Regions from separate parts of the Homo sapiens genome. Here regions 1, 2, 3, 4, 5 and 6 are each linked to region 7. The links are contacts of gene promoters, found by promoter capture Hi-C in blood cells and fetal thymus (Javierre and others, 2016). All regions are on one chromosome and are shown on one strand. The core of a region is centred on a gene start or on the middle of the fragment in contact, and the rest is flanking DNA. Distances in the headings are between cores, read along the strand shown. Region 1 has its middle 5.9 kb from the start of SMC3. Region 2 overlaps ADD3 (adducin 3). Region 3 overlaps SMC3 (structural maintenance of chromosomes 3). Region 4 overlaps ADD3-AS1 (ADD3 antisense RNA 1). Region 5 overlaps SMC3 (structural maintenance of chromosomes 3). Region 6 overlaps ADD3 (adducin 3). Region 7 holds the start of SMNDC1 (survival motor neuron domain containing 1).

Region 1 (3,153 bases), core at 562-3,061, 260 kb before region 7:
GAGGACGGCTTGAACCTAGGCGTTCAAGGCTGCAGTGAATCATGACTGTGCCACTGCACTCCAGCCTGGATGACACACTAGCAAAAGAAAAAGCAGATTTTAATCACATACGTACATGTGGGAGTTCACAAAGAAATGTGACTCAAAAGGGCAGTTACAATTTGGGGCTTATATAACCCAAATGGAGTTTGAGACCAGCCTAGCCAACATGGCAAAACCCCATCTCTGCTAAAAATACAAAAATTACCCAGGCATGGTGGCCTGCAACTGTAATCCCAGCTACTAGGGAGACTGAGGCAGGAGAATTGCTTGAATCTAGGAGGCGGAGGTTGCAGTGAGTTAAGATCACACCACTGCACTTCAGCCTGGGTGACAGAGTGAGACTCCATCTCAAAAAAGAGAAAAAAATCCATTTTGACTGTGTGCTCATTGGTCAGGGAAATTGCCGCAGGATGGGTTTATGGACCTAGTGCAACGAATGTGAAACAGACTTGAGCCAGGACTTCATGTATCACCTGGCCTTTGTACACCTCCACTGGATCAGGGGAGCCATAAACATGTTTGAGCTCAGTGTCAGCTCAGATCCTATGTCCAACAGCACTCAAAAGATCTGGGTGTTCCCCTTTTCCTAGGGTTCAGTTACTCTGTTAAGTTTTAGGGTCAGATTGAAAGAAATGATACTGAATATACCCAAGGAGAAAATACACCTTCCTTGGGACTCAGCTTCCCCTTCAGTTGATGGGCTGTGGTGTGAGATCTGCCTCCCGTACATAAACTGGATGAGGGGTTGAGACTTTCCATTGCAGGGACTGACATCAGCTTGTGCTCGCTCAAGCCTAATCTAATTTGGTATGTAAGTGAAGATGTACACACCGTCACTGGCTGCCAACTTATCTTACTCCTAGAACAACATGGTCTATGAACCATAGCCACAAACCCCTATGGGTTATAGACTTAAACACGTCCTAAGACAAAATTATAATGAATTTAGTTTAAAGATCTTAATTGGCTTTACTTGTGATTCTAGAATCAAGCAACACCTCATTCTATGAAAAAGAATGCACATTCTGGTGAGTTGAGCAGAAGATCATGGCTTTCTAGATAGAAAAGGGCTGAGGAAAGCAGACAGAAAACAAAACACAGCTGTTTCAAAGTTGCTCTCCTTGTAAAGGTTAAAGCAGAGGAAGCTTCCTCATCATGCTGGCTAAAACAGGCCTATTTGGGAATTTGGCTATTTTCTCTCTCTCTTGATTTCTTGAAAGTTCAGATAAACAACTTAGTTTTGGCATGGTGTTGTGGAACTTCAATATGAGTAAATCCATTTTGGTTTGGTCTGTTGGGTCTAGTGCAGGAGCTCCATGAAAACCAATGACTTTCTATAAATTTTATTTAGCAAACCTAGGAGCTAAAACTACAAGACCCCCAGATGGAAACATAGGAGTAAATCGTTGTGACCTTGTGTTGGCAGTGGTTTCTGTAATGCATTGCCAAAGCAAAGTAACACACACAAAGATTAATTGTACTTCCTCAAAACTGTTGTTCACTAACAGAAGTGAAAAGATATAGACTGGGAGAAAATATTTGCAAATTGTATACCTGACAATTTACGTGTGTGTGTGTGTGTGTGTGTGTGTGTGTGTGTGTGTGTGTATATATATATCCAAAATATATAAAGAACTCTCACAACTCAACAATAAAAGACAAACAACCCACTTTAAAAATGGGCAAAAGATTTGAATACACATTTCTCCAAAGAAGATAAACAAATGGCCAATAAACGTGTGAAAAGATGCTCGACATCATTAGTCATCAGAGGAATGTCAATCAAAACCACAGTCAGATACCACTTCATACCCACTAGGATGGCTAAAATAAAAAGGCAGACAATAACAGGTGTTGGCTGGGATATGGAGAAATTGAAAGCCTCGTATGTTGCTGGTGGGATTGTAAGATGATGCAGCCACTTTGGAAAACATTTAGGCACTTTCCAGAATAGGAAAATCCACAGAGACAGAAAACAGTTCAGTGGCTGCCTGGGGCTGGGGATTGGAAGGGAAGGTTTGAAAATGGAGTACAGGTTTGTTTTTTAGGGGAGGAAAGGGAGTGTTGAAAATATCCTAAAATTATATTGTAATGATGGTTGCATGACTTCTTGAATATAGTGAAAATAACAACTCCATATTTTAAATGGGTAAATTTTATTGTATGTGAAATATATCTTAATAAAGCTGGAAAAACCTAGGAAAATATTTCAACAGTGAATCTTTGAACCATACCGATACTTAGACCATGTACAGATGATAATGTGTAGATTATCTAAGTCATTCTTGAACTATTTCATAAAATATAACAGTGCTGTATATAATTGAAATACATCATAATTTCAAATGTGCTATTGAAATCTCAGGTTTAGATCGTCTTTACACAAAGCTTCAGCTATTTAGATTAATGCAGAAATCCAAATTCTGGCATAGATTCAAATATGCCAGGTTCCAGATTCCCAATTTTTCACTCAGTAGTAACTGTATCACTAGAAAGTTAAACACAAAACTACATTATTTAACAGTAACGTAAGCTGATACATTTTCTGGTTTAAATTATCTTTTATAATTTAAAAGATATTTAATACAAAATCCCTAAATCTAGTATAAGTATTTTTGGGAGAAAGCAATGAAATGCAAAAAACAAGTTACTAGGAAAAGGGAGGTTTGGCCAGGCATAGTGGCTCATGCCTGTAATCCCAGCACTTTGGGAGGCCAAGGTGGGTGGATCACGAGGTCAAGAGATCGAGACCATCCTGGCCAACATGGTGAATACCCATCTCTACTAAAAATATAAAAATTAGCTGGGCATGCTGGTGCACACCTGTAGTCCCAGCTACTCAGGAGGCTGAGGCAGGAGAATCGCTTGAGCCCGGGAGGCAGAGGTTGCAGTGAGCCGAGATCGTGCCACTGCACTCCAGCCTAGGCAACAAGAGCAAGACTCCATCTCAAAAAAGAAAAAAAAAAAAAAAAAGAGACGTGAACTACAGACACATGCCGTGACGTGGCTGAATCTCCAAAATATTATATTGAGTGTGGCCGGGGGCGGTAACTCATGCCTGTAATCCGAACACTTAGGGATGGAGAGGTGTAAGGAACGCTTGAGCCCAGA
Region 2 (2,847 bases), core at 138-2,637, 270 kb after region 7:
TTCAAGAACACTGCTCCCTCTATGAAATCCCATTCCCCAGAAACGGGCCCATCTGATTAGCACAGCTGATCTGCCAGCTGGATGGATCCCAAGTAAATTTCAAACCAGCACTTGGCAAAATATCCCTGTACCCTGCATTTTACATGGAACACAAACTAAAGATGCATTCTGGGACTGCCCTGAGAACCAAACAATTGTATGGCGACATGAACATATTCTCTTTATCCTCTTTATATTAAATTTGCTAGATGACCAATTTAAACAATACTTCAAATGCTGTGCTTGAATTCTGCTTACATCTATTCTGCTATTAGTCTGTTGGCATCTAACACTGGATCAGAAAAGACTGCCATCTGGTAGTTATAGCAGCCCTTCACTAACTTGGTCAGAAGTTGAAGACCATAAGCCTCAGAGAAATGCAAACCAAGTTTATTACTATGAATATATCAAAATCTTCTTTTTGTAAAGCCATTCAACAGGGTTTTTCATTCAAAGAGAAACACTGTGCTCACACACATTATATAATCGACCTATAAAAGTCAGGTTTTAAAGGAGTTAAAGGGATGAATGATTAAATTAAATGAGTAATTAGGTCCACATTCCCCTCACCCACAAGGCTGCCACTGTCTCTTTTATAAAGCCTAGGGATGAGAGCCAAATTGGCTCTATTTAAATTGGCTATTTAATTTAACTCTAACTTCTCTTAATCATAATGTGTGTGTTCTTGGGTACAAATTTTTTCCTCTCGATAAAGTTTCTGGTAGGCAATACTTTAGATGAAGAGAAATAATTAACAGTATAAAAACAATAACAACATGTATACAGCATATGAGCACGCACAAAGTGTTTTCAAACTTAGCATGATCTTAATCAGGAAGGAAAGCCAGAGAAGTATTAATAGAATAGCGATTATTTCAGATTCTAACACTTTCATAAGGTTACACACTTAGGGTAATGGTAGAGCTGAGAAAGCTGAATCCACACCACCTAGTCAGAAATTCTCTTTCTAGCATACTATACTCTTTCCTGAAATAGTATTTTACAGTTTACATAGCTCTTAGTATTATAAATACAATATGCATGTACATGTACAAATACTATGCACTCTGAATTTGCCCAAGTATCCCTGCTGCCCACTTCCCCAGTCTGGTTTTACTCCCTTTTTCCTTTTTTGTCCTTCCTTTTCTCTCCTTATCTTTCCAAAGTCACCACCACTTGCTTGAGCCTGAATGAAGGCAGAAGTGGATGAGTGAATGCAGGATCCACCCTTTAAGAGCACTCATGATTTGTGATCACATCTATTCTAACTTAGAGACTAGCATGCCAACACATGGACTATTTCTCCGAGCTCTCATTCTTAATGCAACAATGTCAAGGACATGGCCATTAAGAGATGACCTAGGATTACATAACACTTATCCAGCTTAATATGCTTATTCTATCCCATTATTTTACTTCAACCCTCTTTGTCTATAAAAATCTCTTTCCTTATATGGCCAGTCTCTGAAGTCCAAGATTTGATATTCCTGGCATTTAGCAAAGGAGACTCTTCTTGTATCTCTTCCTGAAGGCATCTGAAACATTTTTTGTGACTGATTTTCCAGGTGAGAAAGTCATAGGCTTGATCTATACCGTTCAACTGGCTGCCAATAAGATTAAATCTCTTTGAAGTTGCTAAGAGGGGAAACTTTAAATGTTATCACAAAAAAAAAAAAGTATTGAGGTAATACATATGTCAATTAGACTGATTTATGCATTCTCATAAATCATATTCTAAAACCTTATGTTCTAAATGTATACGTATTCCAAATCATGTTTTAGATAATACATACATGTAACTTTTGTCAATTTTTAAAAGTTACTTAAAAAAAAAAAATAGCTCATGTCTCTTCATTAACATCTAGGCCACTCACTAGGTACCAGATAGGGTAGGAGGGTGGCGCATTAAAGTCATCCACCAAGACAAAGGAAAACAACTTAAGGATCCTAAGTACTGATCAGTCAACACCATTTGCCAAGAAACTCCTTTATAAACAGTACTCCGCTTCATGTTAAAGGACACACATGGAAATGAAAACATAGGGGAGTATAATACAGCTGAAAGAACACTGGTTCTAGAACCAGGCTGGCTTAGGTTGGAATTCCATTCTGCCACCTACTAGTTGCCACTTACCCAGAGCAAAGTCACAATGTATCTGAATCTGTTTCTTCGTAATTTAGAATATAAATCCGGTGGAACTGATGTGAGGATTCATGATTTTACCTAAAGTACCTAGCACTGTACCTTGCACATGGCAGGTGCCCAATGGATAGTAGCCATAAATTTATTTTTTATTTTGATTTTTTGAGGGACAGAGTTTTGCTCTTGTTGCCCAGGCTGGAGTGCAATGGCACAATCTCAGCTCACTGCAACCTCCCCCTCCGGGTTCAAGGGATTCTCCTGCCTCAGTCTCCCGAGTAGCTAGGACTACAGGCATGCGCCACAACGCCCAGCTAATTTTGTAGTTTTAGTAGAGACAGTGTTTCCTCATGTTAGTCAGCTGGTCTCGAACTCCCGACCTCAGGTGATCCACCTGCCTCGGTCTCCCAAAGTGCTGGGATTACAGGCGTGAGCCACCGTGCCTGGACTTACAAATTTATTTTTATCACCTGTTTTCAAGAAGCTGGTCAGGAGTCACCAACCATTAAAGATAGTGGGTGGAGCAAGTGGTTTGGTTTCGTTTTTTAAACTTCATCAATGGGAGAGTTAGAGAAGGAGTAGAGGTTGCTTGTAGGCAATAGCTCTCAAAACAGCACTGTAATACAAATTGGACGAGCCAAGTCAGCTGGAATAGCTGTAGCCAATGT
Region 3 (2,945 bases), core at 127-2,626, 270 kb before region 7:
ATCTGGTGCTGTTGCCATCTGGTTGATCTAAAATTTTTAGAAAAATAATCATTACATAGCTGTAGCCTCCGTTTAAGAAGAAGAACTCCACGTTGAAAGGTTTTTAATACACATGAAGGTTGGGTATCCCTTATGCAAAATGGTTAGAAACCAGAAGTGTTACAGATTTTAGATTTTTTCAAGTTTTGGAATATTTGCATTTATACTTACCAGATGAGCAACCCAAATCCAAAAATTTGAAATCCAAAATGTTCCAACAAGCATTTCCTTTGAATGTCATGTCCACACTCGAAAGGTTTCAGATTGTAGAGCATTCTGTATTTCAGACTTTTGAATTTGGGACATGCCAAGTTTTAAACAGATTATGATTTGGCTAATGTCATTTGTATAGTACGCATGCCTACATATCTATGTCTCCTTTACTTAAATGAAATTTACCAAATAAAATCCAAATACAACTGTTACGGTCATAACTCTCCTTTATGAATAGGGCTAACAAGTGAAGGAGTATCTCACACCACCATCTTTTTCTTAGTCAATATGATAAGGTATAAAAGATGAGCTCCATTCTCAAAAAACAAAGTATTTTTATAAGGGAAAACCATCACTGACTACACTTTTTTTTAAAGCTACAATAATATATTAAAAGTCAATTCTTCCTCAGTTTCCATGGGGATTGGTTCTAGGACCCCCTGCAGGTACCAAAATCCAAGGATGCTCAAGTCCCTTATATAAAATGGCATAGTATTTGCATATAACCTATGCACATCCTTCCATATACTTTAATATCTAGATTAATTATAATAATACAATGTAAATGCTATGTAAATAGTTTTACTGTATTTTTAAATTTGTATTATTTCTTATTGTACTGTTTTAAAATTTTATTTATTTTAAATATTTTTGATCCATGGTTGGCTGAACTTGCAGATGTGGAACCTACAGATACAGAAGGCTAATGATATGACAAAAATGGTATGCTTTAAATATAGAGAGAATGGTACAACTTAAGTGCCATGCAACTTAATATATAACAAGTATCCCTAAATGTCAAAAATGATATCACTGCATTAAAAAATTGAAATTATCTCTACGAAAATAGGTCTATCAAAAGTATCTACATCAAAGAATCATCCTTCAGATCCTCATTATTGAACGCTCCAATTATACATATTGGTTCATGCAATTTCCTCACTTAAAAATTATTTTTCAAATGGCTACAACATATGTGCCACTGCTGGGCACTGGAAAAGAGCAAACAAAGCAGAAAAGGTCCCACCCTCATGGAGCTTACATTCTAATGGAAAAAGACAGAAAATAAGTACTATCCTAACAGTGTAAGTGTTATGAAGAAAAATAAAACAGATTAAGGAAATAAAGCACATAGGGTTGAGGGGACGGCAATGCTTTCAGATGAGGCAATCAAGGATGGCATACGGGCAGAAACTGAAATGAAGTAAAAGGGCCTAGATTGACAGCAGACGGATCTCAGAAAAGTGCTCTTTCAAATCAGCCTCCATTTAAAAAAATTTATCTCCCACAAATAGTTAAATCGGAAAAAAACGTGTTCTTCCAGTAACACATTTTCTAAAACTGAAACTCCATATTCTTCCTAATCACTTCTTCTAAATGCTAACTTTCCAATACATATCTAGAAAAAAAGGCCTACAGTATAAAATAAGTGAATATTCTTTGAGAATTTTCCCTAGTCCAAAAAAAAAGTGAAAGTATATGAGAAGAGAGCAGAACAATCAGCTAAAAAAGTTTGTAGTTTGGCTGCTGAAAAAATGTAAAAACATAATCCCTATTAGGGAAAATAACATGTGGCAAAATGGCAGATTTCTGGTAATGTTAGCTTTTCAGTATTTTAATTGTGATAAATAATTAGGTAACACAAAATATTAATTTTAGAAAGTTTTTCAAATGTGATTTTTATAGAATTCCTACAATATTCTTAATTATTGCAACATTCATAAGCCAATAATGTCTTCCCATACTTTCACCTCAGTAAGTAATACCAGTCACTAGGAAAACAAGATCCACTTAATATGCTGAAATACTTCCATCTCAACATGCAATGGACCTATTTGGTACTTTATGGCCATGTAAAAGAATATGGCCATTTTTGCTTCAGCTTAACCACTCAAATCAATAAACCAAATTCATCACTCAAGAATTACTCAGAAAACAAATTCTACTTAAAAAGGACATACAATTGTTTTACCTTTCCTTGTTTAACAATATAATAAGGATTGCTTCGAGAAAAACCAGCGCTTTCAAGGAGGTTCATCACATCATTTTTCCTGTTGACAAACAATGAAATTACTTTCCGATAAATAATTTTAAAGCACCATTAAGCAATGAGTAGAGTAGCCCCTTGGTTGATAGCATTAGGGAGGAAAGATCAGTAATTAAACCATCTGTATCATCCTCAGAACTTTCTGATTCTTATGTTTATCCTCTATATGTTGACTTGTTGAAGATGAAGCAAATATTCCTCATATATGAAGCAGGTAAAAGAATACTTTTTACTCTTTTGTAAGGAAATCATAAAATTGCGGGCTGGGCGCAGTGGCTCATGCCTCTAATCCCAGCACTTTGGGAGGCCAAGGCAGGCAGATCACAAGGTCAAGAGTTCGAGACCAGCCTGCCAACATGGTGAAACCCCGTCTCTACTAAGAATACAAAAAGTAGCCGGGTGTGGTGGTGACTGCCTGCAATCCCAGCTACTCAGAAGGCTGAGGCAGCAGAATAGCTTGAACCCGGGAGGTGGAGGTTGCAGTGAGCCGAGACTGCGCCACTGCACTCCAGCCTGGGCGACAGAGCAAGACTCCGTATTGAGAAAAAGAAAAATGCTGGCTGGGCGTGGTGGCTCATGTCTGTAATCCTAGCACTTTAGGAAGCCGAGGTGGATCATTTGAGGCCAAGAGTTCGAGACCAACCTG
Region 4 (3,053 bases), core at 195-2,694, 310 kb after region 7:
GAATCACTTAATGATTCTAAACTTCTGTTTCCCTATCTGTAAAATGGATATGGGAGTCAAAGTATACATGTGTAGACTTGGAAGAGGACTGATCTAGCCTCTGACCCACTGCAGAAATATAATCTACATTACTCCTGACAGATAACCCATCATCCAACCTCCCATGAAAAGTGACTCATCTTCTTATGTTCCTTATGCTGAGCTAAGTTCTGCATCTTGGCACCTCCATTCATTGGTCTTGATTCTTTTCCTTGAAGTTCTGAGTTGGCAATGTGGATGGCAAGAGAAACAACAAAGTACAATGGAAAGAAAATCAGATGAATCTGAGTTTGAACCCCATCTTAAGCACTTTACTGGATATGAAATCTTGACGCAATTGCATCAGTTCTGTAAGGCTCAGTTTCCTCATCTACCTGACGGAGATATTGCAACTTACCTGACAAGTCTATTGGGAGGATTAGAAATAATTTCTAGGCCAGACACGGTGGCTCACGCCTGTAATTCCAGCACTTTGAGAAGCCAAGGCGGGCAGATCACGAGGTCAGGAGATCGAGACCATCCTGGCTAACACGGGGAAACCCCTTCTCTACTGAAAAATACAAAAACATTAGCCAGGCATGGTGGCGGGCGCCTGTAGTCCCAGCTACTCAGGAGGCTGAGGCAGGACAATGGAGTGAACCCGGGAGGCGGAGCTTGCAGTGAGCCAAGATTGCACCCCTGCACTCCAGCCTGGGCGACAGAGCAAGACTCTGTCTAAAAAAAAAAAAAAAAAAAAAAGATTTTCTATAAAATGCCTGCACATACAGAGTGCTTGGTAAAATTACAATTAAGAATTCTTTTCTTAGAATATATTGAAGTCAGTATTTCTTGGGGCCTGAGGTGTTTATGGCATGATTTCAGGTTCCTGTTATGATGATTTGTTCTGAAATGTTCTCAACTTTTCCCTTGTTCCTGTTTCAAATAAATAACCACTTTCTGTATATTGCCTTGCATTTTCCTTCTCAATAAAACCACCTTCTTTTGCTTGTACAATAGAAAAGAAGGAAGCTTAAACAGGGACTTAATGAAGCTGTACGCAAGTGTATGCTAACTAGTTAGAAAAAATCCATAGTGGAGGTAGAATTTAATCTTTACTTTGCAGCATGAGAGGCTTCTGAAATAAAGGATAGTTTGGAAAGGAGTTCAAATGTGCTCTGGGATAAGAGATTGTCGTAATGCAGGAAACATGCTAACTTTACTAAAGTGAAAGGAATTCCATGAGTTTAGGAGTGAGATAACCCAGAGCTGTGGACCTCACAGTCATTTGAAACTTCACAGAAAGTTTCCGTAGGAACAGAAGCTTCAAAACATCTCTTTTTGAACTTGTCCATAAGTATGAAAAATTAAAACATGTGCCTCTTTGACTAAAAAAAATCCATGGTAATGAAGTTACTGTGCGGAAATTCTTGTGTGAACATTTAAACAAGATAGTTACAAGGATGTTCACTGCCAGGTGGTTTCCAATGTCAAACAAACAAAACAACAGTGACAACAACAGTCTAAAGCTTTCAATAGAATAGTAAAAACAATGATAATGGATCCATAAAATGGAATACTATACAGCCTTGATGAAACATCATGTTAACCTGGTATGATGTCCATGATATATTGTTGAGGAAAAAAGTACGTTTTAGACCACTATATGATGAGCTATATTTGTATATATGTATCTATGTATGCATGGGCATGTGCATATATTTATGTGAGTATATAGATGTAAATATATGGTGTATGTATTTAGAAAAAAGTTTGGAAATCTGTACGAAAAACTTAACAGTAGTTAATTCTGAGGGGTGGGATTAGGAGAAAGAGATTTTCATTTTTTGCTTTAAATGTTTGGATATTTGAGTGCTTTTACATGTGCAAGTATTATTTGTATAATTTCAAAAAACAGTAAAATAAGAATAGCTAAATTCACAAACATATGTTTAAGCACTTGGTTACCTTTTCACAAAGTTCAGGAATCCTCACTTGGAGAATACCTTTTTAAAGGAAATAAATAAGTTAATATGTTTCCTTTGGATAAAAGTCAGAACTGAAAGACCATCTGGTTTAATACCCTAGAAAGACCCTCACCTATCTAAGCCCTCAAGACAAGAGAGGAATCTGGAACCCCTGACATCTAGGGTTCCTTTATATCCCTCCACAGCTTCCTTTGGATCTCAGATAGGGCAAAATGCCCTAACTGGCATATGACCATTATGAGTGTTTTTCTTGAAAGGAAGTGAGACTTGGTCATCAGATAATTTCCCACAAAAAACCTGATGTGTGCACTTGGAGCTTAGTACTGGTTACAGTGAATAAAGCTCTGTGGCCCAGGAGCTTGCCTGCTAAAGCTGGGCACTGCAAACATCTATCATCTAACATTTGCCAGATGCCAGTTCATTTGATTAAAAAACAGTGTTAATGAGCACTTGAGCTTAATTTTTTTCAAGGAGCCAAATTGCCTCATGCAAAGAAATATTCAACAACCACCCTGCATCACTAATTCCAGCCAATTGCTTCTCGAAATTGTTCCACTGGTTGTAAAAATTAGTGGAGTAGAGTGTGTAGTTGGTTAAGTTTATCCATTTGTTCATTCATTTATTCATTTATCTCTTCATTCAATTGTCAGCAGTAAACGTAGAAGTTAGCAGTCAGCTGGGGGCTTGGGGAGGTGGGTGGTGGGGGGGGAGTCCGAAACATTTGAGTTTAAATTCCTGCCCTGACACCTACTGGCAATAAAATCATGGCAATTTATGTAGCCTATCCAAGTCTTTGTTTTCTCATCAGTAAAATGGAGGCAGCAATCAAAAAGTTGTCGTGAGGATTTAAGAACATTTAAAGTACCTAGCATAGAACCTGGCATATATTACATGCTCAGTAAAAGTTAGCTATTGTCATTCATGAGTTTGTCATTCAAAAAATATTTGAACACCTAATGTGTGCCAAGTTTTGTGCCAAATTCTGAATTTTTAATATGGTTAAGATATGATCCTTGCTTTTAAGGGGGTTAAGTCTAGGTGAGAGGTTAT
Region 5 (3,108 bases), core at 49-2,548, 290 kb before region 7:
TAAAGGCAGTAAGATAAATATGGTAAGGCTAACAAGCTCAAACTCATAGCAATACTTACAACTAATAAGTAATGCTAATTAACTAAATTTTAAGGAAATGAAAATTTCTTGTATAATCCTAACCTAGCTAGATTGGTTTAGAAAAACAAAATCTTATTTACTCCTATGTATATTAAAAGTCCAAGCCTCATTTTAATATTTTCTCAGTTCTTTTCTTTCATATTGCCCTAGTTAGCAAGAAAGGCCCTTTTCACAATAGCCAATTACTAACGAATTCTTTTTCCAGTCAGCTGTCTACTTACCTGCTGAAGTTGACGAATCTCATCATTCAGTGCATCTACTCTCTTCTGATCTTCCAAACTCAGTTGAGAAAGCAAATCAGTTCCCAGTTCTGCTTTCAATGACTCTCTGGTAGACTCCATAGCATGCAAGCTTGCCTCCAAACTCTGTAAGCTACGTTGCTATATGACATTATCCATTTATTAGTAAGGTATTAGCCACTGTATTACTTATAGTGAAAATTTTAAAACAATCTATATTTGATTGAGCTAAATATATAGACATATCAACTCAAATATTAGGTGCCTATTAATTTGGTAATTAGGACTCTAGCAACAAGAAAAATATGATGTAATAGTATAGGTGGGGCAGGGTGGGGCAGATCATATTCCATGATTAAACTATACAAAAATCTTCAGGCATATTATAAGAACAAAAAGTTGCCGGGCGCAGTGGCTCACGCCTGTAACCCCAGCACTTTGGGAGGCCAAGGTGGGTGGATCACGAGGTCAGGAGTTCGAGACGAGCCTGGCCAACATGGTGAAACCCGTCTATACTGAAAATACAAAAATTAGCTGGGTGTGGAGGCACACGCCTGCAATCCCAGCTACTCTGGAGGCCGAGGCAGGAGAATTGCTTGAACCCAGGAAGTGGAGGTTGCAGTAAGCCGAGATCACGCCATTGCACTCCAGCCTGGGCGATAGGGCGAGACTCCATCCCCCTCAAAAAATAAAAAGTTGTCAGAATATGGTTGGGATGGTACAACTGTAGGCACATCTTTTTTTTTTTTTTTAAGCTCTTTGTAGTTTTAGTATTATACTAAGTAAAAGATTTGTCAAAACTGTCAAGTTTATGAGACCAATAACACACTATCACTTATAAGTTTGCTTTCTAATTTTAATACAATCTGGACAAAACGGAATCAAATATTCAACTAATTCCATTGTGCTTCAGATAAAAATGGTTACTGACAAAAACTGACCATCAGACAGTACTCTTATGTCACAGCTTCAAATGCCTATTTGTTCAATGAAGGTGGAAAGTTTGAACGTGCCAACAATAGGAGACTTTGGGTATCCATGGGTTTAAGAATGGTAAAATAGATGTAGATATCCAAAAGTATGGGTCTAGCCTGGGCACAGTGGCTCACACTTGTAATCCCAGCACTTCGGGAGGGCAAGGCAGGTGGATCATCTGAGGTCAGGAGTTTGAGACAAGCCTGGACAACATGGTGAAACCCCATGTCTACTAAAAACACAAAATTAGCCGGATGTGGTGGCGTATGTCTGTAGTCCCAGCTACTCAGGAGGCTGAGACAGGAAAATCGCTTGAACCCAGGAGGTGGAGGCTGCAGTGAGCTGAGAACGCACCACTGCACTCCAGCCTGGGTGAGACAGAAAGAGACTCTGTCTTCAAAAAAAAAAAGTATGGGTCCAAACAAAAATGAAACATAAAATTCAAGGATAACCCATATAATGTATGATTCATATTTCCATATTATTAATCTGTAACAATCGATCTATAACCAAAGATATACTTACGAACCTTAGGCATGAAGGTTTTCTCTGACTGCTGCCTCTTCTCTTTTAGCATCTTCATTTCTGATAATATGCTATCTCTAGATGCTTTAAATTTCCTTTGCTGGGTCTCGATCTGTTGCATTTGGTTCATCAACTGATCAATTTCATTATTAATCCATATACAAGGCTAAGGAAAATTATCTCCAGGTTGTAAATATATCGTATGTTCTTAATTCTTTTTAGACACAACACCATGTATCCCTTCCTTTTCTTTACCCCCAAATAACATTTATGTCCTCAAATTTATGGACCAAAACAATGCTGAACTATATTACCCAAAATGCATTCAATCATAAAGAAGCTTGAAACATTTCACCCCATTTCACTCTCAGAATAACATGTATACTGTTTTACTAAAAGTTATACAAAACAAATTCTTGGAAAACCATAAAGGAGGTTAGGTGAAATCTAACAATATTACATACTTTTAAATATCTTTTCATTCAACAAATGTTTACTGTTACTATGCTTAAGGCACTATGTTAAGGGTTTATGTATGAAGAGTTCTTGCCATGTGTGGAATAATTCAATCTAGCTGGATTATCAAACACAGGAAGACAGCTGGTATACACTGTCAACATCCTCCTTTTCCTCAGTATTTCCCCATACGCTCTTTGTGTTAACATCTTGCCAAATTCAGGCAGTTCTTTAAAGTGCGATATGCAGACCCCTGCAAGGTCAAAGCTCAGGTGCTTATTTTTCTTTTTCTGTGCTTGCACTGATGGCACAGAAGTTATAAATCTGCAGTTTTAAAAAAATTCCAGTTTCACCTGAAGCAGTTAAAAATCATTAACTTTATATCTATTCTTGATGCTCAAGTACCTATATTTTTCAACTTGTGTGGCAAAATGGAAAGCACACATAAAGTACTTCTTATACCAAAGCACCATGGTGGTTTTAAGAAAATCCACATATACAATTGTTTCATTTGTGAACTGAACTAACCACTCCTCATGCAGCACCATTTTTATGTAAAAAAAAAAACTATGGCTACTCCGACTTGGTTATCTGACAGCCATTTCCTCCACTAACATTAAATCTGCACCAAATAACTTCAAGACAGTAAAATCTAACATTTTTCACCCTCCCCTGTCACCTTTTTTTTTTTTTTTGAGACAGGGTCCCACTTTGTCACCCAGGCTGGAGTGCAGTGGTGTGATCTCAGCTCACCGCAACCTCCACCTCCCAGGCTCAAGTGATCCTCCTGCCTCAGCCTCCCAAGTAGCTGGGACTACAGGCCTGTGCCACT
Region 6 (3,060 bases), core at 379-2,878, 290 kb after region 7:
GATGCAGCTAACAGTTGCTCACTCTAACTTCCTAGGGCGTAAAAGTGGAGTGTTCTTAGAAGTCCCTGGGGAGGCCTTGACTTCCAAATTTACTTCCTTAGATATACCAAGTAAGCCTAACTATCTTCTTCAGGAGGATGAGTAAACCCAACTTTCTGCTCTAGCATTTAGTCATTCTAGCAAATCAAAAGATGATAGGATGAGAATATTGAATGGAAAAGGAAAACAGAAATGCTGTCCTTGCTCAGGATGAGCTGAGCCATTGTGGAAGAACTGCACAGAAACACTGCTAATGGTGACAAAGACATACACCGAGTTCCCATGACACTAAAAACTCAGCACTTCTCCAACCTGATTGCTTTTACATTGTTTGAGTTCCACCTCCTCTAGTAGGTAACCAACAAACCACCACAGAGGCAGAGTTAAACAGGCTGAGTCACTCACATCAGCACTCTCCTCTTTCATTCCATCTGAAAAGGTGAGCACTTCCTTTGGTGAGGGAGGGGAAAGTAAGAAATCACAAGAATAAATTTAAAGAGGTATGGAAGCTTAAAAAAATAATTTCGTGTATATTACTTGGAGTTAGGTTATCCTGCTTAATCCACTGCTTGCCTTAACGTATCTGTGATCACTGTTATTTTATTGTTTCACTAATATAGTATACTTCTTGAGACACTGGTTTTAAAGACATTATGTTACTGTCCTTAAATTTCTCAGAAGTGTTTTTACCTCCTAGCTGGTTGAGGGAAATGTTTATCCTATGGAAATTGCATATGCCCACTGCAGAAAAAATTGAGTTTCATAACCCTAGATTAAAACCTTAGCCTTGGCCGAGTGCAGTGGCTCACGCCTGTAACCCCAGCACTTTGGGTAGCCGAGCGGGGAGGAACACTTGAGGTCAGGAGTTCAAGACCAGCCTGGCCAACATGGCAAAACCCCATCTCTACTAAAAATACAAAAATGAGCCGGTAGTGGTGGCAGGCGCCTGTAATCCCAGCTATTCAGGAGGCTGAGGCAGAAGAATCGCTTGAACCCAGAAGGCAGAGGTTGCAGTGTGCCGAGGTCACACCACTGCCCTCCTGCCTGGATGACAGAGAGAGACTCCATCTCAAAACAAAACAAAACAAAAACCTAAAAATCCAAAAAAACCGTAGCCTTGTTTGAAGAGGTAGTCATCTTAAATGCCAGTTTATGTACCGTATACAAACCAATCTCCTCAGGCCCATTTTCATTGAAAGAAAAAAAAAAGTAAACATAACATATGGTGCTGATGCAGATCAGTCTGACTTCAAGTAAAGGCTCAATTTAGATCTAACCTTACCTTAAAGATATAAACCAGGCCTGTGGCTCATGCCTGTAGTCCCAGCTACCTGGGAGGCTGAGGTGGGAGGATGGCTTGAGCCCAGGAGTTCGAGACCAGCCTGGGCAACATAGTGAGAGCTGTCTCAAAAATACAAAAGAAGAAAAAAAAAAAAGATATAAACATATGCCAAGGCCTATACATCTTGTACAATAACGGTTCAGCTTTTAGTGGAGTTAAAACTAAGCAATATTATCTTCAAGAAACAAACTTACAAGAACAGTAAGCCTTTTAAAATCAAAGAGAGGTTTCATCCATTTTATACCTTTTGGTGATCATGCTACTACTATTTGGATTATGCTAGACAACTCTGAAAGCCACATTCATTCTTTAAGGTTTCTAGGATACTCTAAATGTATTCCTTCAATGCAGTTAAGTAATGTCCTAGAAGCCTGAAAGGAATTGTTAACGCAGCTTTTCAAACATACTCAACCAAAAACAGTTTAAGGAAACAAGGGGCTCTGATTCTCATTATCTGTGCTACCATCTAAGACTTTAAGTTAAACAGTACTTTCTTAACATTTAACATGTTTTCAACTGGCAATTCAATTTTGAACTTTGAGACTGGTCCAGATATTCAGCAACATTAAAATACACATGAAATAAATAAAAGATCCACAAACCTTTTTTCTCCAACACTTTTTTCCCACATAAAGGTATTACTCTATGCATACTGTTGGTACTCAATAAATATTACATTAATACACCAGGTGAATAATTTTTAACTTTACCTAAAAGGAAGAGAATCCCTCAAGTAGCATGGTTTGACATACGTATACATAGACACACACATCCATAATTAGCTACTGCAAGAATAAAAAATAATCATATTCATCTAAGGGATAACACACTTTTTCGTTCAAGCAACAGCCAATGAAAGACTTCTAACCTGTATGTTTTAGAGGATTCTTGATATATACAACCCATTACAGTAAAAAATTACAGTAAAAATTTGAGACTGTCTTGGCATTTGGCCAAGAGAACTGAATCTCTGGCAGAACCTGAAAGACCTCATAACAATCTCACCTATAAACACTCTGGCATGGACCCGGAGTTCAAACCATAGAGTATTAACAAAGAAGACATAAAGTATTAAGGCACTTATTTTGAATCTCAATGACATGACAGTCTAGGACTGTCCAATTAATTTTAAATTGGGTTTAAATAACTTCAAATAGGTCTACGTTTAAAAGGAAGAATAGCACTCGATTAGATATTTAAAGTTTTTTTAAAAATTCAAACTCTACATATTTAATATTTTCAAAGGAATCTGAAAAGCACTAATTATAACAAAAACAGTGTTTAGTGTGAGAAACAGATTAGTAACCTGTGTCTTCAATAAAGCTTGCACTTTCTCAATTCAACGCATGCTTGTTTTTAAACATTTTTTCCTAACATTACATTGCACTAAGTTGTCAAATGACATTTCATCTATCTACAATAATTCTAAACATTACTTAAAACAGCTCCTAATTTAGTTTATAATTTGTTTGACATATCAACTACAATGGTGAAGCAGCAACACACAGTTCCTTGAGGAATGTGAATGACAAAGTATAAGCCACAAGTTACATCTTTGCATTTAGGGTTCATTTTAGGAAGCAACTCAGGTGGTATTTAGAACAAACTTAAGTTAAAATTTATCTCAGGTTGATATGATGTTGGTAATCAGAAAGGTGATAAGGTTTACTGATTTACTG
Region 7 (3,026 bases), core at 11-2,510:
TTTTTTTTTTTTGAGACGGAGTTTCACTCTTGCTGCCCAGGCTGGAGTGCAATGGCACGATCTCGGCTCACCGCAACCGCCGCCTCCAGGTTCAAGCGATTCTCCTGCCTCAGCCACCCGAGCAGCTGGGATTACAGGAATGCACCAACATGCTCGGCTTTTTGTTGTTGTTGTTGTTGTTGGTTTTTTTTTTTTGTATTTTTAGTAGAGACGGGGTTTCTCCACGTGGTCGAGCTGGTCTCGAACTCCTGACCTCAGGTGATCCGCGAGAAGTGGGCCTTTTTATGGATCCAGCAACAAACTCCCAACCTCCCAGGAAAGGTTGCTTCCTGTCATCTATATAAAACTTTGTGTCTCAGGCCTTTATTGCTTTTTTAATTGAAATAAATTATATATATATGGTTTAAAAAAAAAAGAAAAGGAAAAAGGGTAAACAGCAAAGAGGGTAATCAATAAAACATTTGGCTTCCACTCCAAACCTCTGAACAGTTTTGTGTATCCGTCCAGAAAGCGTATATATTATTACAAACATACACAAGGGGCATTTCTTTTTGAACACAAATGTGAGTATTCCTACCACTCTTTACCATTCTAGACTAACTTGGACGTTGTTCCCTATCAGGCGAGATTAACCCAACTAAATTAAAACCAAGTAGGTTTTAACAAAACAGATTTTAAAGAAATCAATCTTCTCTCCAATAGGTTATTTCTGTCACGATTTAATTAGCTTTCTGTTACTACTAAGGCTTGTATCATATAAAGTAGTGGTTCTCAGGCTGGGCGCGGTGGCTCACGCCTGTAATCCTAGCATTTTGGGATGCCGATGCAGGAGGATAGCTTGAGCCCAGGAGCTGGAGACCAGCCAGGGCAACGTAAAGAGAGCCCCCACCAACACCCCCCGCCACCCACCACCACCGCCCCGGAAAAGCAGTGGTTCTCAAACGTCAGCGGACATTGGTATCATCTGGTGAGCTTATTAAAACAAGAGTCTCTGGATTCAGGAGGTCTGGGGTGGGGCTTGAGAATTTGCATTTCCAATAAATTCCAAGCCGGAACTCCAGGAAGATAACCTGCATTCCGCGCCTGGCGAAGCCCAGCTACGCCATTTCCTTCCTAGGCCCCGCCTACTTCGTGTCCCTGACAGCCAGGGACTGGCTAGAGGGCGCGCGGAGTCACGTGAGTCGAGCGACCTCGCGCGAGAGTTTGTATTTCTCGCGAGACTTCACCGTCTCTGTCTTTTCCTCCTTCCAGTGCCCGGCGTTCCTCCCTTCCCCCTCGCCGCCGACCGAGTTCTTCCTTTTCAGACCGGGTCGCCTTGCTGTCGTCGCGGTGATTTTCCTGCTACTGCTACTGCTGCTGCTGCCACCGCCACTACCACTGGGCTCATTTGCCCCGACCCCTTCCCGCCGCCCCGCCCCCAGCCCCACACAAGGTAACAACCCCCCTGAGGGAGAGAGTAAGGCCTGGCCGGGCCCGGGTCCCTCCCGAGGTGAAGCGGAGGCCCAAGGCTGAGGAGCCCGCCTCGCCGGAGACGCCCAGGCGCTGGCCCTGGATCCCGGAGCCACGGCCGTCTCTCAGCCAGAGCTGAGCCTCGGCGGCCCGGCCGGCGCTGGCCTCCGTGCGGCGGCGGCAAACACGGCCCGCAGGGGACCGGGTCGGGTGGGGCTGGGCGCCGCGCGGCTCCCTGTGGAGCCTGCCTGTTGGAGCGCGGCGGGGCTCCGGCGGTGGTCTTGGAGCTGGCGTGTGGATTTCCACGTCCGAATGATCGAGTTGTGGCGGGCTTTGAGGTGCTGCGTGGCGGGGAGGAGAGCAGCCTGGGTCGCTGTAACTCTTAGGGGGCCTTTGCAGGCTCCCAGCCTTTGGTTGGACGGGAATTTTACGAAGGAGAAGGGTCCTCGGAAACGTGGTACATTTGCTTATAAACCATCAAAAAAGGTTAATTGGTATCTTATTTTCAGGAAAATGACTGAGCTGGATTTGGCGAAAGGCACATTCGTTAGAATGCCTAAATGGGAGAGTACCTGTGCTGTTCTTTTTGCTGAAGATAATGCACCGATAAATATTTAAGCGACTGGGCGAAAGATTTTTGTTTTGGAGAGGCACTTTTAAATACACTCTTAATTGAATAGTTCAAGTAAAGATCGTAGTTTGTGTAGTTAATTTAAAAACGCACTTGTTTGGCTTTGGAAGCATACTGTAGTGCTTAAAAATAAGTATTTGGATTGTTTTTGAAAGTTTCGACTTTTCCAACAGAGTAGTGCTTTTTAAAAAGATAACACTGATTATTGAGCCGAATTCAGCACCTACCCTGTGGATAGGAGTTAAAAGAAAATTAGAAATTTCTTTGTATCTGTATGCTTTTTTAAAGTATGGAATGTATCTCAAGTTTATAATCCTCAGAATCTGTTGCCTTTAAGTTTGTGGTTTAGCTGAAGTCTAAACTGAGAGTAAAGGTAATGGTGGTAAATTAAGCTGCAGTGTTAGAAGGAGTTAGAGGCAAAAACTGGTAATTCAGGCAGACAGGGGAGTTAGTTTTTTATGCCTTGATTTTTGGTTTAGTTTTCATGGTCTAACCCTTTTTATTTTCCCTAGATGTCAGAGGATTTAGCAAAGCAGCTGGCAAGCTACAAAGCTCAGCTCCAGCAAGTTGAAGCTGCATTATCTGGAAATGGAGAAAATGAAGATTTGCTAAAATTGAAGAAAGATTTACAAGTAAGTATGGGTAGACAATTGTACTTTTTCTCTGTTTTTCAAATTATTGCTTGAATCCCTAAGTACCCAAAGCGCCTTTTGAGGGGTTACACCCCACCCTATGTATATATGTAAATTCTGTAGGTACCATTGCTTGTAGAAGTAGGGTTGCTTCCCCAGTTCTCAGGTTTCTGTACATCAGAGTGAAATATTGTTCTTTGTTATATAAATCTTGTGTGCTTACATAATTTTTAAAAACTAAAGTTGATAGAAATTTCCAAGTCTGTCAGATTTTCAAGACGAGAGGTACATGTAACTTCACAATGAAAAACGCT

Evidence for each region. The method cuts DNA at HindIII sites, captures the fragments that hold promoters and counts their contacts. A CHiCAGO score of 5 or more calls a contact.
Region 1: a fragment that was not itself captured here is called in contact with the fragment with the promoter of SMNDC1 in region 7 in 17 of 17 cell types (activated CD4 T cells, total CD8 T cells, fetal thymus and 14 more); the score reaches 67.6 in activated CD4 T cells.
Region 2: a fragment that was not itself captured here is called in contact with the fragment with the promoter of SMNDC1 in region 7 in 2 of 17 cell types (neutrophils and monocytes); the score reaches 7.6 in neutrophils.
Region 3: a contact is called between a fragment that was not itself captured here and the fragment with the promoter of SMNDC1 in region 7, in 17 of 17 cell types (fetal thymus, naive B cells, megakaryocytes and 14 more). The highest score is 30.0, in fetal thymus.
Region 4: a contact is called between a fragment that was not itself captured here and the fragment with the promoter of SMNDC1 in region 7, in 4 of 17 cell types (neutrophils, activated CD4 T cells, total B cells and 1 more). The highest score is 9.5, in neutrophils.
Region 5: a fragment that was not itself captured here is called in contact with the fragment with the promoter of SMNDC1 in region 7 in 17 of 17 cell types (M2 macrophages, megakaryocytes, M0 macrophages and 14 more); the score reaches 114.2 in M2 macrophages.
Region 6: a contact is called between a fragment that was not itself captured here and the fragment with the promoter of SMNDC1 in region 7, in 6 of 17 cell types (neutrophils, monocytes, naive CD8 T cells and 3 more). The highest score is 14.1, in neutrophils.

What each region holds. Positions count from the first base shown.
Region 1 is chr10:110,560,201-110,563,353 of GRCh38, reverse strand. No RefSeq gene overlaps it. Among named protein-coding and RNA genes, the nearest start is that of SMC3, 5.9 kb to the left of the region's middle. The HindIII fragment of the contact is 1,243 bases long and covers 1,190-2,432 here.
Region 2 is chr10:110,030,775-110,033,621 of GRCh38, reverse strand. All of the region lies in intron 1 of ADD3 (adducin 3), which reads right to left. Among named protein-coding and RNA genes, the nearest start is that of ADD3-AS1, 24 kb to the right of the region's middle. RefSeq lists a silencer at 1,177-1,471. The HindIII fragment of the contact is 5,269 bases long and covers 1-2,847 here.
Region 3 is chr10:110,577,986-110,580,930 of GRCh38, reverse strand. It overlaps SMC3 (structural maintenance of chromosomes 3), which reads right to left. Exons shown (of 29, transcript NM_005445.4): 7 at 2,225-2,303; 8 at 1-27. Among named protein-coding and RNA genes, the nearest start is that of SMC3, 12 kb to the right of the region's middle. The HindIII fragment of the contact is 3,969 bases long and covers 1-2,945 here.
Region 4 is chr10:109,990,866-109,993,918 of GRCh38, reverse strand. The region is part of intron 2 of ADD3-AS1 (ADD3 antisense RNA 1); the gene reads left to right. Among named protein-coding and RNA genes, the nearest start is that of ADD3, 16 kb to the left of the region's middle. The HindIII fragment of the contact is 205 bases long and covers 1,342-1,546 here.
Region 5 is chr10:110,597,007-110,600,114 of GRCh38, reverse strand. SMC3 (structural maintenance of chromosomes 3) reads right to left here. Exons shown (of 29, transcript NM_005445.4): 20 at 1,825-1,976; 21 at 303-461. Among named protein-coding and RNA genes, the nearest start is that of SMC3, 31 kb to the right of the region's middle. The HindIII fragment of the contact is 1,728 bases long and covers 435-2,162 here.
Region 6 is chr10:110,011,171-110,014,230 of GRCh38, reverse strand. The region is part of intron 1 of ADD3 (adducin 3); the gene reads right to left. Among named protein-coding and RNA genes, the nearest start is that of ADD3-AS1, 4.3 kb to the right of the region's middle. RefSeq lists an enhancer at 273-332. The HindIII fragment of the contact is 2,156 bases long and covers 551-2,706 here.
Region 7 is chr10:110,303,154-110,306,179 of GRCh38, reverse strand. It overlaps SMNDC1 (survival motor neuron domain containing 1), which reads left to right and starts at 1,260. Exons shown (of 6, transcript NM_005871.4): 1 at 1,260-1,432; 2 at 2,593-2,712. The coding sequence starts at 2,593. RefSeq lists a silencer at 1,429-1,748. The HindIII fragment of the contact is 6,895 bases long and covers 1-3,026 here.